2 separate regions of the Homo sapiens genome follow, and region 2 is linked to region 1. Evidence: promoter capture Hi-C in human tissues and cell types (Jung and others, 2019). All regions are on one chromosome and are shown on one strand. Each heading gives the region's core, a stretch centred on a gene start or on the middle of the fragment in contact. The rest is flanking DNA. Distances are from core to core; before and after follow the strand shown. Region 1 holds the start of GAL3ST2 (galactose-3-O-sulfotransferase 2). Region 2 overlaps ING5 (inhibitor of growth family member 5).

Region 1 (5,027 bases), core at 1,851-4,350:
CTCCGCTTCCCAGGTTCAAGCAATTCTCCTGCCTCAGCCTCCTGAGTAACTGGGATTACAGGCATGCACCACCATGCCCGGCTAATTTTGTATTTTTTAGTAGAGACGGGGTTTCTCCATGTTGGTCAGGCTGTTCTCAAACTCCTGATCTCAGGTGATCCGCCCGCCTCGGCCTCCCAAAGTGCTGGGATTACAGGTGTGAGCCACCGCGCCCGGCCACATAAGCCACTTTCATGTTTGCCTACTGATGTTTGGACTTCAGAGTAGTGTGGCCTGTATCGATTTTCCAGGATTGCTCTTTTCTTTGTTGTTGTTTTTCTCCTTCCTTCTCCTATTTTGTCTTCCTAGGACTTGACACTTCACAACCTGCTAAAAAATGAACTTCCCAGGGCCGGGCACGGTGGCTCACGCCTGTAATCCCAGCACTTTGGGAGGCCAAGGCCGGCGGATCACGAGGTCAGGAGATGGAGACCATCCTGGCTAACACGGTGAAACCCCATCTCTACTAAAAATACAAAAAATTAGCTGGGCGAGGTGGCGGGCGCCTGTAGTCCCAGCTACTCGGGAGGCTGAGGCGGGAGAATGGCGTGAACCCGGGAGGCGGAGCTTGCAGTGAGCCGAGATCGCTCCACTGCACTCCAGACTGGGAGAGAGAGCGAGACTCCGTCTCAAAAAAAAAAAAAAAAAAAAAAAAAAAAAAAAAAAAATGAGCTTTCCTAGTAACTCAGGACCTGCCCGTCTAGAAATAAACTATCCTAGCCATGAGAGATAAGACAAAACCTGGGACCAGAGACTCATTTTCTTCTAAAATCTTGGAGAGCTTTCTCCAAGATTTTAAAGAGAAAATGGGGGGAAATGTGAAAGGAAAAGATCTTGAGCCCCCAGATCACTACAAGCTAAAGGGAGGAGTCTAGCTGGGAACTGCTCAGGGCAAACCTGCCCCCCATTGTATTCAAAGTCTCCCCTCTGCTCACTGAGATAAATGCGTATCTGACTGCCTCCTTTGGAGAGGCTCATCAGAAACTCAAAAGAATGCAACCATTTGTCTCTTACCTGCCTGTGACCTGGAAGTCCCCTCCCCACTTGGAGTCTTCCTGCCTTTGCTTCGAGCCGTCCTGCCTCTCCAGACCGAACCAATGTTCGTCCTGCATATGCGGACTGATGTCTCATGTCTCCCTACAATGTATAAAGCCAGACTGTGCCCTGACCACCTTGGGCACACGTCATCAGGACCTCCTGAGGCTGGGTCATGGGTGCACGTCCTCACCCTTGGCAAAGTAAGCTTTCTAAATTAACCGAGACCTGTCTCAGATTTTGGGGGTTCACACCGGCATGGTGACCCCCATGGGCTCTGTACCACATCTTCTCTGATCATGAGTCCCCTCCTCCCCAAAGATACCTGGCCACACCCCAGGGAGGCAACACCCCCAAGTGCCATAGCTCAGAGTTTTGTGCCTGAATCATCACCAGCAAAACAAAAGATCAGCAAGCATCCAAGTGAGCACTTTGCCCGGCGGCCTGGATTTCCCGTGGCCGGTGGTCAAGACTAGGCCTCACTAGCGCAGGCAAAGTCTCTCCTCTGTTCTGGGCAGCTCCTTGAATCACCCAGGTGGGTGCCAGTGGCACCACACACTACCGTCCCCTTTGTCCCCAGGGCTGTTGATTTGTTCCACCCACAGGCCAAGCAAGCTGACACAAGCGAGGTGAGCCTCCCACACTTGCCCAACCCCAGGAAAATAAATGCGAGGCTCAGGAAGGCTGCTGTCCAGGGCTGTGGGGAAGTGACTCGGGGCTTCCCTCCTGCAGGCCGTGCTCAATGAAGCCTGGGACACCCGGAGCCAAAGCTCCCTGGCCTTAGTGTGGGACGTGCAGCCTGCATGGGCTGCTGCAGTGAGCCCATCCTGCCAGGCAGTGAGACCAGCAGCTGAGGAGCCTGTGCCCTGGGCTCCCCGAGGGCCTTCGGCTGCAATGCCTCCCATGTCTCACCCACAGAGTCTCAGCTGGGGTCAGGCACACCCGCCCTGGCCGACCTCGGGGGGCCCCAGGGCAGCCAGGGGGGCCCTAGCTTGGCCACCAGCTAATCAAGTGAGCCTGATTCCCCAGCCCCTGGGCCTCTTCTTCACAATATGGTCACAATGTCCACAGGAGGGGGCATCTAGGATGGTCCAGGCCAGGCAGCCGGCCCCACACCTCTCAGCCCTGTGACGGGGTGTCCTCAGCCAGTGTCCTGGCAGCTGGTCTTAAGTCACCCCTTAAAGGAAGGTAACTGAATTCATGGCGGCACACGCCCCGGGGAGGCAGGGACCTGCCAGCGCAGGGACGGCTTCAAACTGCCCTGGAATCACCCCAAACAGGATGGCGAGCAGGAGAAGGAAAACGCAAGGCATCCTTAGCCACACCCACCACCCCTCCAAACCTAACTGGGAAGAAATCCACCTCCCCTCTGTTTACAGAAGGGAGACAGCACAGCAGAGCCCAGCCTCCCCGTCACCACCCAGAGCCCCGGGAGCATCCTGAAGCGCACGCATGACCAACGCTCCAGCAAGCGCCTGGCACTCCCACCAACACGGCCCAGCCATGGGCCTGAGCCGCAGACCGAGGCTGGGAGGTCCCAAGCCCAGCAGGTCTCACCCTCCCCAGCCGTCACGCGGACACTCGAGCGTCTCCACGCCACAGTGTTGGGGGGCAGCTTTCTCACTGGGCCCCACATCCCAGAACCCCCAAACACCCAGAAGCAGCACCAGGCCTGGGCAGGAGGGGCCCCCTACTTCCGAAACGAAGCCAAGACAGGTGAATTCAGGGAAGCCTGAGTAGGAACAGCCTCCAAATCCAAGTCACTTCCTTCGAAAGACAAACAAAACCCACTCCTGTCCGTCTCTCAGAATAGCCACAGATGAAGCGCTTTGTCCACCTGGGGGGTCCAACTGCCCCCCTTACCTCTGCAAGCCGCCCAGCATGGACATCATCTTGGCCTCTGGCCTCCAGCGAGGGGACAGTCGAGGCTTGAGCTCCCCCGAGGTCCCACCGCCTCGGCCCCTGCCGGCTCTGGGCTCCCCAGGGTGCAGGCACAGGCAGGGTGCGGCTGTGGGGCAGGTGAACTGGAATCCCCAGAAGCTCACCTGCCTCCTGGGACGGGAGCCACGCCCTCTCCCCGCACCTCCATCGGAGGGCTTGGTTTTAACTGTTCTGTTCTCGGGAAGAACTGGCTGAGGGAGTCTGGGGAGCCCTCGATGGGCCCCTGTGTTCCCCAGGCCCTGGGAGGACCTGCCTGGGGCCTACCCCTGCTCCCCTGCCCCACCCTCAGTGTCCATCCCCCCGGGGGGCTTGGAGGGAGCTGTCCCCACAAGGGACGGGCTTGGTGGGCTCCAACAGCACAGCGACGGCTTCTGGACTCAGAACTCAGGACCTGACGCAGACGAGAGGGCAGAGGGCCCTGTGGCCACTGCAAGGATGAGCGAGGAAAGCTCAGCCCAATTCCCAGCTTCCTCCCCCTCCTCGTCCTCCTCTTCTTCCTCCCCCTCCTCCTCCTCCTGAGCCTGCTTCACACCAAAAGAAAATCTGACTTTTTAAAATCTTGGGCTGGACAATAAGTTTGAAACAGGACATGGAGGTGGAAAATAAATATAAATATTTGTTTAGATTTTACTGCAAGAAAGTTCATTTCTCTTTTCAGGAAATAGATATTAATTCCGAGACAAGCAGCCAGGGAAATGCTGCAACATTGTGACCAGGCGCTACAGTGAATCCACAGGAAAACGCAAATGCTCCTCAGAGCTACGGGCCACGCGCCATGAGTCACCACCACCCTCGCCACATCCCACCAGCGCTGGTGCCCACCATGCCCTCCGACGCCAAGCTCTCCACACGGCTGGTCACCTTCCCACAACCCCTCCCTGTCGGTGCCAGCTGAGCCTGGATTCCGGGACTGGCCCCAGCCCAAGGCAGCCTCCCTGCCCTAGCCAGTGCCTGGCTCGGATGGGTGCAGGCCCCATAGCCATGGAGGCAGAAACAAGGCTGGGCTGAGGGGCTCAGAGGAGGGGCCGAGCACACATGGACCTCCCTGGCATCAGAGACCCTGGGCTGGGCGGCTGCTGGCGAAAGGCCCAGAGACCCCCAGCCTCCCTTCCCCATTTACCTCCACCTGCAGCCCAGGGGCCTGGCATCTCCGCCCCCGCCTAGGCATCACCCTCCCAGCTGCTCTGTAGACCTCCAGAGCCCGAGTCTGTGGGAGGGGCCAGCAGAGCAGCTCCCGGTGCTAACGGCAGGTGGGAGGGATGCCGGGGCCTTGCTGGCACGGCTGGGCAGCTCTCCACCGGCGTGCCCTGCATCCTCCGCATTCCACTATCCAGAGACATCCGTGTGGGTGTTCACTCCACCATTAAGGAGCCTCCCTGCTGCTTCCTCCACCCACCCTGCCCAGGGCACCACAGGCTCAGCCTAGGAACAAAGAAGATGGCGCCTCATGGGTCCTTACCCCAGAATCACCTTGGCCGAGCCATGTGTTACAAACGGTGGGGCCGGTGGAGAGCAACCTGCCAGGGACACACGCCTGAGGGTCACGGCCAGGCACCTCCCTACACACGCCTGAGGGTCACGACCAGATGCCTCCCTCCCAGGTCAAAGTCCCCAGCTCTCCAGATCCCAAGTGACTTATGGGGCCTGAGCAAGAAGTGTGGGCCTGGGCAGGGGGTCCTCAGCCACCAGCCACCTTCACCCCCTGCTGGGGCAGACAAGGGCAGTGCAGTGTGGTGTGGAGCGGTGGTCCCAGCCCCAGGCTGGGAAAGGGACGGAGGCCCGGCGGCCAGAGGGAGGAGGCTGCCTGTTGCCAGTGGGGCCCTGCTGGGAGCCCCAGGGAGTCAGGGTGTCTGCCCGGCCCCAGCTCCCCGCTAAGAATCAGCCGCTCTGGCAGCCTGCCTGGTCCACGGTGACTCAGGAACACCAATCAAATGCACACGTTGTTTGTCAGAGCAGATGCCCACGCCCCCATGGCAGAGCCCTAACCCCTGGGGTGCGGACGGGGCTGGCTG
Region 2 (5,247 bases), core at 807-3,306, 60 kb after region 1:
TGCCTCATGCACTGAGTGAGGGCTGGGCTGGCCACTGGGCCACGCTGAGCCCACACAGCCACACATGGCGGCCGCGTCCCCACCGACATTTATAGTCCAGAGGCTGCACAGAGCAACTAAAAGCAGAGGGAAAATCCCTGCAACCTCGGAGTTCTCGAGCAAGGGGTCTGCTCGGGCACCGCTGGTCTCCTCCCCCGCACTTCTACCAACTGTGGAAGCCGCTGGGGCAGGAGGCGAGAGAGGAAACCTCAAGGTCCTCAAGGGGCCTCGGTGGAGCTGAAGCTGAGACCCTGCCCCGCCCCAGGCCCCCAGCCCTATTGGCCTGGACTAAAACAGAACGAACACCTCCTGGGGAGAACAGAAATTTCCCTCTCCACGCTTCCTTTATATCTAAAGTCAGACAGCTAATAAATCATGAGACATGTACCCTCAGCAGGGAAATAGGACTGATTATGTTTTTTTAAAAGCTGGTTACCAAGGAATGGTGGCACATGCCTGTGATCCCGGCTACTCAAGTGACCCTCCCACCTCAGCCTTCCAAAGTGCTGAGATTACAGGCATGAGCCAAAGCACCCAGCCCTACAATCTCTTAAATGAAAAATGTATTAAAGGAGATTAAAACTAACTTAGGGCCGGGCACAGCAGCTCACGCCTGTAATCCCAGCACATCGGGAGGCCAAAAACAGGCAGATCCACCTGAGGCCAGGAGTTCGAGACCAGCCTGCATAACACGGTGAAACCCTGTCTATACTAAAAATACAAAATTAGCCAGTCATGGTGGCACGTGCCTGTAATTCCAGCTACTTGGGAGGCTGAGGCAGAGAATCGCTTGAACTTGGGAGGCGGAGCTTGCAGTGAGCCAAGATTGTACCAGTGCACTCCAGCCTGGGTGACCAAGCAAGACCGTCTCAAAAAAAAAAAAAAAAAGACAGAAAGAGAAAAGAAGGAAGGAAGGAAGGAAGGGAGGGAGGGAGGAAGGGAGGGAGGGAGGGAAGGAGGAAGGAAGTGAGGGAGGGAGGGAGGAAGGGAGGAAAGAAGAAAGGAAGGAAGGAAAGAAAGAAGGAAAGGGAAGGTGAGAGGCTGAGCTGGGCGGATCACTTGAGGCCAGGAGTTTGAAACCAGCCTGGCCAACAGGCTGAAACCCCGACTCTACTAAAAATACAAAACTTAGCCGGGTGTGGTGACGCTCACCTGTAATCCCAGCTACTTGGAAGGCTGAGGCGGGAGAATGGCTTGAACCCGGGAGGCAGAGGCTGCGGTGAGCGGAGATTGCGCCACCGCACTCCAGCCTGGGCCACAGAGCCTGAACCTGTCTCATAAATAAATAAAGTAATAGAAACAAATCAAACTGAAGTACAGAAAGAAAAAAGCTTGCAGAAAGTAAGCAGAGCCTCGGTGAGCTGTGAGAAAATCTAAGCTAAGGAACGCACAGGGAGCTGGACAGCAGGAAGAGGAGAAAGGAGAGCACAAAAATACTGGAAGAACTGTCTGAAAATTTTCCAAATTCGATGCAAAGTATAAACCAACAGTTCAAAGATGCTCAACAAGTTCCACGCAAAATATACACAAAAAAATCACACCAATACACATCATAACCAAACTGTTAAGAGCCAGTGACAATGAGAAATCTTAAAAGCAAAAAAAAAAAAAGAAACCACCAAAAATAATTATTATCAGTAATTTATCATCAGAATCAATGAAAGACAGAAGAAAATGAGAGAACATCTTTAGCGATAAAAGAAAAAAGGTCAACCTAAAATTCTATACGCAGTGAAATAAAAGCATTTTCAGAGAAACAAAAACAGAGAATTCATCACCATCAGCATACATGTACTGCAAAAAATGTTAAAGTTCTTCAGTAGAGGAGAAATGACAAGACAGAAATTTGCATCCACATAAAGAAATATACGTAAGCAGAATATGTATGGAAAAAAAATTTTTAAAGAAAGAAAATAAATATTAAGAAATAATAGTTGGGCCAGGCGCGGTGGCTCATGCCTGTCATCCTGCCACTTTGGGAGGCTGAGGCGAGAGGGTCACTGGAGGCCAGGAGTTCGAGACCAGCCTGGCCAACATGGCAAAACCCCATCTCTACTAAAAATACAAAAATTAACCAGGTGAGTAGGTGGGTGTAATCTCAGCTACTCAGGAGGCTGAGGCACAAGAATCACTTGAACCTGGGAGGCAGAGGTTGCCGTGAGCTGAGATCGCACCACTGCACTCCAGCCTGGGACACAGAGCAAGACTCTGTCTCAAAAAAAAAAAAAAATGAAGGTTACCAGAAATGGCAACTATATGAGGTAACTATATATGGGGTGACTTTTGTGGTGAGAACACTTAAAATCTACACATTTTTTTGAGACTATATTGTTATTAACTGTAGTCACCATGTTGTAAAACGGATCTTTTGAACTTATTCCTCCTATCTAAATGAAATTCTGTATCCAACGTCTCCCCTGACCACCCCAGCGCCTGACCACCATTCTACTCTCTACTTCTGTGAGTTCAACATCTTTACATTCCACATATATTTTAAGGCGTGTTTCACGTCATCAGTGGTTTGCATCTAAGGTAATAACGTGCTGGGAAGCTCAGATCACAGGCAAAGTGAAGGACAACAGCACAAAGGCAGGAAATGGAAGAACACTTGTGTGGAGCCACACGTTAAACATCAAATAGTGTAATATCTGAAGCTCACTGTGATAACTTAAGGAAACTGAGTGCACACACTAGAACAATCCTTAAAATACAGGGGCCGGGGCAGTGGCTCACGCCTGTAATCCTAGCACTTTGGGAGGCCGAGGTGGGTGGATCACTTGGGGTCAGGGGTTCGAGACCAGCCTGGCCAAAATGGTGAAAACCTGTCTCTACTAAAAATACAAAAACATTAGCCGGGTGTGGTGGCGCACACCTATAATCCCAGCTACTGCGGAGGCTGAGGCATGAGAATCGCTTGAACCTGGGAAGCAGAGGTTGTAGTGAGCCAAGATCATGCCATTGCAAATTGTACTCCAGCCTGGGCAACAGTGCAAGACTCCGTCTCAAAAAAAAAAAAAAAAAAAAAAGCATGGCTAATAAGACAAGAGTGGGGAAAAAAACGGAATACTAAAAAATACCTGATTAGTCCAAAAGAAGACAGCAAAGGAGCAGAAGGAACAAACAGAAAACTAATAGCAAGATGGTGAACCTAAATCCCACCATATCATTAATTATGTTAAATATGAACAGACCAAATATTGCAATGAAGGCCGGGTGCGGTGGCTCATGCCTGTAATCCCAGCACTTTACAGGGAGGGGAGGCCAAGGTGGGCAGATCATTTGAGGTCAGGAGTTCGAGACCAGCCTGCCCAGCATGGTGAAATCCTGTCTCTGTTAAAAATACAAAAATTAGCTGGCTTTCAAAGGATTTCAATTATGTAATGTTCTTTGACCACAACAGAAGTCAACTAAAAAATTAAAATTAGAAAGGTATCTGAAAAATCCCAAATTATTTGGAAATTGAGACACATACTTCTACATAAGTTATAGGGCAAAGAAGTAGCATGAAAAAAAAAATTCTAGGTCAGGTGCGGTGGCTCACGCCTGTAATCCCAGTATGTTGGGAGGCCAAGGCAGGCAGATCACCTGAGGTCAGGAGTTCAAGACCAGCCTGGCCAACATGGTGAAACCCTGTCTCTACTAAAAATACAAAAAAAAATTAGCCAGGCATGGTGATACGTGCCTGTAATCCCAGCTACCCAGGAGGCTGAGGCAAGAGAATTGCTTGAACCTGGGAGGTGGAGGTTGCAGTGAGCCAAGATCACACCACTGCACTCAAGCCTGGGCAACAGAGTGAGGCTCCGTCTCACCAAAAAAAAAAAAAAAAAAAAAAAAATTCTATTCCAGCACTTTGGGAGGCCAACGTGGGTGGATCACTTGAGCTCAGGAGTTTAAGACCACCCTGGGCAACATGGTGAAACTCCATCTCTACCAAAAATATAAAAAATTAGCCAGGCATGGTGGCATGCACTTGTGGTCCCAGCTACTTGGGAGGCCGAAGTGGGAGGATCTCTTGAGCCCAGGAGGTGGAGGCTGCAGTGAGCCAGGATCATGCCACTACACTCCAGCCTGGGTGACAGAGTGAGACCTCATCTCAAAAAACAAGAAAAACATTCTAAAATATTTTAAATAGGTAAACGAAATAAAAATTTAAAACAATATCAAAATTATATCAAAATCATAATATATCAAAATTTGTGGAGTGCAACAAAGATAATAATTAGAACAAGGAAGATATAAAAATCAATTATGCAAGCTACTTCCACCTTAAAAAGCTAGAATAGTATAGGCAAAGTAAACCTGAGTAGAAAACAGGAAATAGAGAGTAGAAACAAATGCAATAGCAAACAAAAAAATAGAGAAAACAATAAAAATAATGAAACTAAAAGCTAGTTCTCTAAAAAGATCAAGACGGCCAGACGCAGTGGCTCACGCCTGTAATCTCAACACACGGAGAGGTTGAGGCAGGCGGACTGCTTGAGCCCAGATGTTTGAGACCAGCCTGGGCAACATGATGAAACCCTGTCTCTACAAAAAATTAGCCAGGCATAGTGGCGCATGTCTGTGGTCCCAGCTACTCGGGAGCTGAGGTGGGAGAATCACTTGAGCCTGGGGACAGGGAGGTGGAGGCTGCAGTGAGCCATGTGCATGCCACTGCACTCCAGCCTAGGTGACACAGCTAGACCCTGCCCTCAGGGAAAAAAAAAAAAGGATCAAGACAAAATGAGAGAAACATAAATTACCAGTATCAGGACTGAAAGAGGGGTCATCATAACAGACACATCAGAACCATAATAATGCAAAATTATTAACAACCTGATGTCAAAAAAATCTGACAACTTACATGAAACAAATTTCTTGAAAGACACAGATTTTTTCCAAAACTGACTCGAGAAGAAATAGAAAGCCTGAATACTTCCATAACTTTAAAGGAACTGAATGCAACATCAAACTGTACACTTAGAATAACATTTTATTGTATGTAAATTATTCCTTAATAAAGTTAATTTAAAAGGTTAGAAAAACAACAGGACTAAACTATAATGTATAGTGTCTAGGAATGCACTATAAAACTATTAAAGAAACAAGGAAATAAACACTATAGAAATCTGGATCATGTTTATTTGGGGGCAGGAGGAGTTTATGATTTTAACAGGGCATATGGAAGGCCTTCCAGCAGCAGTTAATCACTGACTAGGTGCTACTTAC

Evidence for each region. The method cuts DNA at HindIII sites, captures the fragments that hold promoters and counts their contacts. A contact is called where the count stands out against the background at its distance.
Region 2: a fragment that was not itself captured here is called in contact with the fragment with the promoter of GAL3ST2 in region 1 in 1 of the 25 tissues and cell types used here (mesendoderm cells).

The regions. Positions count from the first base shown.
Region 1 is chr2:241,774,895-241,779,921 of GRCh38, reverse strand. GAL3ST2 (galactose-3-O-sulfotransferase 2) reads right to left here and starts at 3,100. Exons shown (of 4, transcript NM_022134.3): 1 at 2,938-3,100. The coding sequence starts at 2,966. RefSeq lists enhancers at 1,185-1,804, 1,805-2,425, 2,426-3,046, 4,288-4,908. The HindIII fragment of the contact is 16,655 bases long and covers 1-5,027 here.
Region 2 is chr2:241,714,100-241,719,346 of GRCh38, reverse strand. All of the region lies in intron 5 of ING5 (inhibitor of growth family member 5), which reads right to left. Among named protein-coding and RNA genes, the nearest start is that of ING5, 15 kb to the right of the region's middle. The HindIII fragment of the contact is 9,714 bases long and covers 1-5,247 here.